Regions from separate parts of the Homo sapiens genome. Here region 2 is linked to region 1. The links are contacts of gene promoters, found by promoter capture Hi-C in blood cells and fetal thymus (Javierre and others, 2016). All regions are on one chromosome and are shown on one strand. Each heading gives the region's core, a stretch centred on a gene start or on the middle of the fragment in contact. The rest is flanking DNA. Distances are from core to core; before and after follow the strand shown. Region 1 holds the start of OR6V1 (olfactory receptor family 6 subfamily V member 1). Region 2 has its middle 100 kb from the start of PRSS1.

Region 1 (3,579 bases), core at 455-2,954:
TTTTAAAATTAGAATGTCATTGCTGTGTGGCCAGGACACAACCCCAAATGAAGCATTTATGGGGCTGGAGAAAGGGCCAGAGTATATCTACACACAGCTTCACTCCTTCCACTCCTGACAGTTTGTGTTGTAAATACTTTGTTTGTGTTTGAAATGTTTTAAAGTACCCTTTTAGTGAACTGAAATTCCAAGAAACAGTGTAAAGCTGTAAAGATCTTCACACACACACATGCTGGCAATGAGAAGAAGTGTAGAGAGATGATGGGCAAAAAAAATTTGAGTTCTATTGACGGTCTAACAATAAGAACAGTGATAACAATAACAACAACGATTTGTTGGCTAGTATGTGCTAGTCACTGCACTAAGTAGTTTACTTATTTAATTTTATAATCACCATAGAGGCTAAGTACCAGTAATACCATTATTTTACAGCTGAATAAACGGGCTCAGAGAGAGTAAGTAACAAAGAAGAGCAGATTTACGGCCCGTGACAAGCAAGTCTAGAGCCAGAATTCAAACACAGGCAAGCCAACTCCATAGCTTACACTTTGCACCACGGCGGGAGGGGAAGTGCAATGGAGACGGCAAAGCAGCACCCTTGGGTAGACAGATTATGCCGTTGGGAAGCCTGATGACTGTGTGTGTCCTGGGAGAGCAGCCACTTGGATTTCCAGGCTCGCTCCCTGACCTGCTGCACCCTTTCTGCTCTCCATCTTTGCAAACACGAAGCAGAGGTCTCCTCTAAAGGAAGTTAATTTCTGGACTCAAAACTCTGACTTTCACTAATTTCATGATCATAGCCGGAGAAATGTGCACAAGCGAGGGTCCTCAGAGAGGCAGCTCAGAAAGGTTTGCAGGGACCCTTTAAAAAGGGTCTTGGGGCACAACCTCTGGGTGTGACATAGACGGATTAGCCTACATTTGGGGGCTTCTGGGTCACATGCACTAATGCTCTCTCTCCCTCTCTTTTTCTGTGTTCCTCCCCTTCCTGTATTTCTCTATTTGAATTTTTTCTGTTCTTTCTCTGGTCCTCTGTTGTTTCCTTCTTGTTTTCTCCCTAAATGTCAATGTCTGTTGCCATGTGGTCTTCCTTAATCTTTTCCTCTGTTTTTCTTTCTTCCCCCCCTTTTTTTTTTTCTTTTTTGAGATGGAGTCTCACTCTGTCACCCAGGCTGGAGTGCAGTGGCACGATTTCGGCTCACTGCAACCTCCACCTCCCAGGTTCAAGCGATTCTCATGCCTCAGTTTTGCAGGTAGCTGAGATTACAGTTGCCTGCACCTGGCTTATTTTTGTATTTTTAGTAGAGACAGGGTTTCACCATGTTGGCCAGGCTGGTCTTGAACTCCTGACCTCAAGTGTTCCCCCTGCCTCGGCCTCCCAAAGTGCTGGGATTACAGGCATGAACCACCATCCCCAGCCTTCTCTCTTCTTAATAATGGCTTTCTATGTCTTTCACTTCTCTCATACCCTCACTCTGTTTCTCCTTGACTCTCCCATTCCTGTTTTGTTATCTTTCTTTATTGCCGTTTCTTTCTGCTTTTCTGTTTATCACTCGCTGGCTACTTGCCTTTCTCTCTCTATTCTCTGTCTCTGTCCCTGTTTCTTCTGTTTCAAGTTCAATGGTTCTCTGTCTCTATCTCTCTGTTTCTGCCTCTCCGTCTGTCTTTTGTTTCTCTTGCATGCAGGGCCCCATACTGTGGATCATGGCAAATCTGAGCCAGCCCTCCGAATTTGTCCTCTTGGGCTTCTCCTCCTTTGGTGAGCTGCAGGCCCTTCTGTATGGCCCCTTCCTCATGCTTTATCTTCTCGCCTTCATGGGAAACACCATCATCATAGTTATGGTCATAGCTGACACCCACCTACATACACCCATGTACTTCTTCCTGGGCAATTTTTCCCTGCTGGAGATCTTGGTAACCATGACTGCAGTGCCCAGGATGCTCTCAGACCTGTTGGTCCCCCACAAAGTCATTACCTTCACTGGCTGCATGGTCCAGTTCTACTTCCACTTTTCCCTGGGGTCCACCTCCTTCCTCATCCTGACAGACATGGCCCTTGATCGCTTTGTGGCCATCTGCCACCCACTGCGCTATGGCACTCTGATGAGCCGGGCTATGTGTGTCCAGCTGGCTGGGGCTGCCTGGGCAGCTCCTTTCCTAGCCATGGTACCCACTGTCCTCTCCCGAGCTCATCTTGATTACTGCCATGGCGACGTCATCAACCACTTCTTCTGTGACAATGAACCTCTCCTGCAGTTGTCATGCTCTGACACTCGCCTGTTGGAATTCTGGGACTTTCTGATGGCCTTGACCTTTGTCCTCAGCTCCTTCCTGGTGACCCTCATCTCCTATGGCTACATAGTGACCACTGTGCTGCGGATCCCCTCTGCCAGCAGCTGCCAGAAGGCTTTCTCCACTTGCGGGTCTCACCTCACACTGGTCTTCATCGGCTACAGTAGTACCATCTTTCTGTATGTCAGGCCTGGCAAAGCTCACTCTGTGCAAGTCAGGAAGGTCGTGGCCTTGGTGACTTCAGTTCTCACCCCCTTTCTCAATCCCTTTATCCTTACCTTCTGCAATCAGACAGTTAAAACAGTGCTACAGGGGCAGATGCAGAGGCTGAAAGGCCTTTGCAAGGCACAATGATGAGCCCAGGGCCCAGGGGAACCTGGCCTGCCTCCATTGAGCAGTTCTGTGGGGAGGGAGACCTCCAGCAAGTGGGAAGAACACTGCTGAGTTTCTTTAGTTTTTTTCCCTCTGAGCAATAACTACAGTGAGCCCTGAGTGCTGCACTGTCTGGCCCAAAGCTCTTATGGACCACCATGGAAGAGTTCCCTACATCCCCTGGCAGCCGTAAGAACTCTGAGAGTAGCCCAGAGCTTTCAGTAAAGGGAAGTGCATGTGCTTTGCATTTAAGGAAGAGCAGCCAAGAAGTGCTCTATGATCAAGAGGTAGTGTCCAATCCCAGTATGTGTGCATGGGTGTGTATGTGTGTACATATGTGTGTATGCGTGTGCATGTTCCGGGTGTGCTTCTCTATCACAGTATGCACTGCTGCTGAGTGTATGCACCATAAGTGCTTGGGCTACATGGGATCAAGAGAAGAAGCAAAACTTACCAAAAACAAACTGATTGTTTTTCAATGTGTGTGTGAGTGTTGGGAGGAGGACTGGGTCCTTGTATAATTATTCATCCATTTATTCATTCATTTCTTCAACATTGAGTAGGCTGTGTGTGTCAGGCACTGTAACAGGTAGAGGGTAGAAAGGTAAAAAAGGCATAAATGGTTCTTAACCTGACAAAGCTCTTGGCCTAAGGAAGGAAAAAGTGATAAATAGCTGTTTCCAGCACAGTGGGGAACGTGCAACAGTGGATTCACAGACGGTATTATGAGCACACAGGGGAGCAACACTGAGACCAGGAGGAGGCTCAGCGACGGCTTCCTGACAAGATGACACCTGAGTAGCACATTGACTATAAGGTGGACACTGTGAGAGTGCAATTCATCAGGTACCTTTGCATCAGAGAAAGATGAAACAGAGAGAAATTAAAACAAGATAAATCTCCGCTAGTGAGGAA
Region 2 (3,579 bases), core at 646-3,145, 410 kb before region 1:
AAATGGTGATAGGAAAATTGGGTATCTATATAAAGAAAAATAAGTGCAATTGGACACATCTCAATATATAGCCAAAATCAATCCCAGCTATATTAAAAGCATAATTGTAATAAAATCACAAGGCTTCTAGAATACTGTATAAGAGCACATCTTCATGGCCTTAAAGCAGGGAAAGAGTTCTTATTCCCTCAATCAGTAGGGAACAGATTGATAAAAATGGCTATATCAAAATTAACATATTGAATTTATCAATGTTAATTATGTAACAGTGACAAGATTGACTGTATAGTGACATATCATTAAATATCTATATATTTATACCAAATTAATATCCCTATTTATATTTATATATTCAAGAAAAGCTAGTATATAAATTTTTTAAAAACCTACAAACTAATTTTTCTACAGATCAATGAGAAAAAGGTAACTGTCAATGGAAAAAGTGAGTGAAAACCATAAGCACCTAGCAAAATCTCACTGGTCATTAAACATGTAAATGTGGCTATATTTAATAATCAGGGAAATAGAAATTGAGTCCAACGAAATATATACCCACAAGAATGGCTACGATGATAAAAATAGTAACTATCAAGTGTTGGCAAGGCAAAGTGTCAACAAGAACTCTCTGAATCACTGGCTAGAGTGTATATCGGTAGATCCAGTTTGGAAAACAATTTGGTATTATCTAGTAAAGTTCAAGATGTGTGTACCCACTATCCATCAATTCCACCCTTGAGAAAGGCTTTTCTAGAGAAACCCTTCTACGAAAATCAGGACAAGAATATTCACTGTAATACATCTGTCATGGCAAAAACGTATAAAATATCCAAATGTAACTTAAGAGAAGAATAAATCCTGGTTATTAAAAAGAAATTACACAGCAGTGAAAATTCATGAACTAAAACTAAACACACAAACATGAATGAATTTCACAAATTTGAATGAAAAATTACATTGCAGAAGAAAGGTACAGTATTGTCTCGTTTGTGTAAAGTTTGAAAGCATCTAAAACTAAACACTATTTTGTTTGCTTATGTGCCTATGCATTAAAATATAAAAGAGAAGCAAATAATTACAAAAACAAACACCTCAATAGAGTTAGAGAACAGAGGCATGGAATCTGGGAAAAGAAATAAGAGCTTTCAAATATTCTGGTAATCTTTTATTTCCTGTGCCAAGTTGTTTTTTTAAGTGATCATTCTGTTGGTATTTTATCAAGTTATTATCTATATATTCAAAGTCCATTTTGTAATGTGGAGAAAACAACCTCACTGAACAATTAAATTAGTAAGGAGAAATCTATGGAAAGATATACATTAAGCTGTTAACATTACTTACCTGAAATGAGGATGAGATGGAGGAAGAGAAAAGTAAGCGAAAAAAAAAATCATCAAAAAATGCACAATTTAAAATAAATAGTTACAGAGAGAAAAAGCAAAAAAGGGAGGTTATGTAAAAGAAGCACTAGTAAATGAACAAGCTAAAATACACCAGAAAGAGCTAGAAGGTGAAGTATTTTTCAAAGCAGTCACTAGTTTCAGAATCATAAAGATAGCAATTACAACAGAGATCTGAAATATATAAAAGATAATTAGATAACTAATAGCCAGAAGGAATGTCCAGTCTTGAGTTAGAAACTGATGCTCAAATTAATGGCAAAGGACGTTTTTGAAACAACTGTGAAACTTTGCATAAAAACTAAATAGTAGATAAGATGAAAATGCATCGATGAGAAAGGATGATCATTAACTGAAAAAAAGCTTATCAAACAGAATTTCAAGAATATTGTTTACTAAAAAAAGTGTCTATATATCTACACATTTATATATGGGGCAGAGAAGGATCTAGAAAGACTCACTAAGGTGTTAACAGTGATAATTGCTTTCTGGCAGTGGTATCATATTTTTATTTTGTTATTTTATTTTCTAACTTTCTAAAATATGAGTGTATTGCTTATATTAGCAAAAATAGACATAACATATTTTTAAATGAATACAAAATAACTGAGTTATATTTCCTGAGTTAGGATAAAAGCTTTTTTTCCCTGATACTATGAAGTGTTTTTGCTCAGGAACATGAAGCAATAACATGATGATTATAAGTCAGTGGAGGGATCACGTCACAAGAAGGTGCAGAAAGGGGATGAAAAAGCCTCATCCCTTTGCAACGTCAATGCGATCATGGGCACCAGGCTCCTCGGCTGTGCAGCCCTGTGTCTCCTGGCAGCAGATGCGCCCTGAGCACAAAAGAAAAATCCTTGTCCTGGGCTTGCCAACCAGCAGATCCAAGCTTTGTTTTGTTTTGTTTTGTTTTGTTTTGTTTTGTTTTGTTTTGTTTGTTAAGCTCTTTCCTGGACTCTTTCTACAGCATCTGTTTCTTTCTCTTACAGACTCTTTTCATGCCAAAGTCACACAGACTCCAGGACATTTGGTCAAAGGAAAAGGACAGAAAACAAAGATGGATTGTACCCCCGAAAAAGGACATACTTTTGTTTATTGGTATCAACAGAATCAGAATAAAGAGTTTATGCTTTTGATTTCCTTTCAGAATGAACAAGTTCTTCAAGAAACGGAGATGCACAAGAAGCGATTCTCATCTCAATGCCCCAAGAACGCACCCTGCAGCCTGGCAATCCTGTCCTCAGAACCGGGAGACACGGCACTGTATCTCTGCGCCAGCAGTCAATCCACAGCACTGAAATGTCAGTTCCTCTTAGCACACAAACTTGTCACAGACCCAGCTCAGGAAGCAGGTGATGTATTAGGCTGGAAGGGAGTAACAGAAAATAACTGGAGCCAGCTTAAGCCACAGTGTAATTTAACACAAGGATAAAGGGTGTTTAGCAGAAGTCAAGAGGTGATAGAAGTTCTGAAAAGGCACCACTAGGGCTGGGCTCTAGAATGGCTATCTCTCCAGCGCTGATTTTTATTCAATTTTGGCTGCTGAATGCTTTTCTCTCCCTGTACACCATCTCTTTTTCTCCAGGCCTCGTGGTGAGAATGAGATGGTCACTAAAGATTACAAATTCAGTTGCCATCATTTCCCTACACTGATAAATACCAGGCTGGCTCTTTCTAAGCCTCAATTCAAAATCCCAAGAGAAAAAAACAGATCAGTCATGATCCAGCCATTAACCTTCTCACAGAGCACTCAGCAGTAGGCATGTATGTATATATTTAAAATCACATAAATATTACTTTTCCACTCAGCTCAAGAAAGGGAAGTGCTCCGTTTTTCTGTAAGTACATTTGGTCTTGTTGCTTCTACATGATAGAGAGTACTCATACCCATTTCTTCAGAAATACATAGCCAGATTTTCTCCAGTTTTCTGCCAGAATTGAAAATTCTTGTACAAATACCTTCATAGACTTGTATGATTGCTTTATAGGATTATATACCCAGAGCAAGTCATGATTGCTGAGACATGGAATTCTATGCATATTTTATCTATCTAAATACCACCACGGGTTCTTCAGGATCACTGTATACATCTGCAATCCCACATAAAAGTGAATAGGGTGTTTTCCTACATCCTAATATCTCCTTTAATCCTTATCCAGTGATCTAGATTGTTCTCAG

The links. The method cuts DNA at HindIII sites, captures the fragments that hold promoters and counts their contacts. A CHiCAGO score of 5 or more calls a contact.
Region 2: a fragment that was not itself captured here is called in contact with the fragment with the promoter of OR6V1 in region 1 in 1 of 17 cell types (total B cells); the score reaches 5.4 in total B cells.

What each region holds. Positions count from the first base shown.
Region 1 is chr7:143,050,637-143,054,215 of GRCh38, forward strand. OR6V1 (olfactory receptor family 6 subfamily V member 1) reads left to right here and starts at 1,705. Exons shown (of 1, transcript NM_001001667.1): 1 at 1,705-2,646. The coding sequence starts at 1,705. The coding sequence ends at 2,646. The HindIII fragment of the contact is 11,126 bases long and covers 1-3,579 here.
Region 2 is chr7:142,643,781-142,647,359 of GRCh38, forward strand. It overlaps TRB and the pseudogene TRBV23-1. Among named protein-coding and RNA genes, the nearest start is that of PRSS1, 100 kb to the right of the region's middle. The HindIII fragment of the contact is 274 bases long and covers 1,759-2,032 here.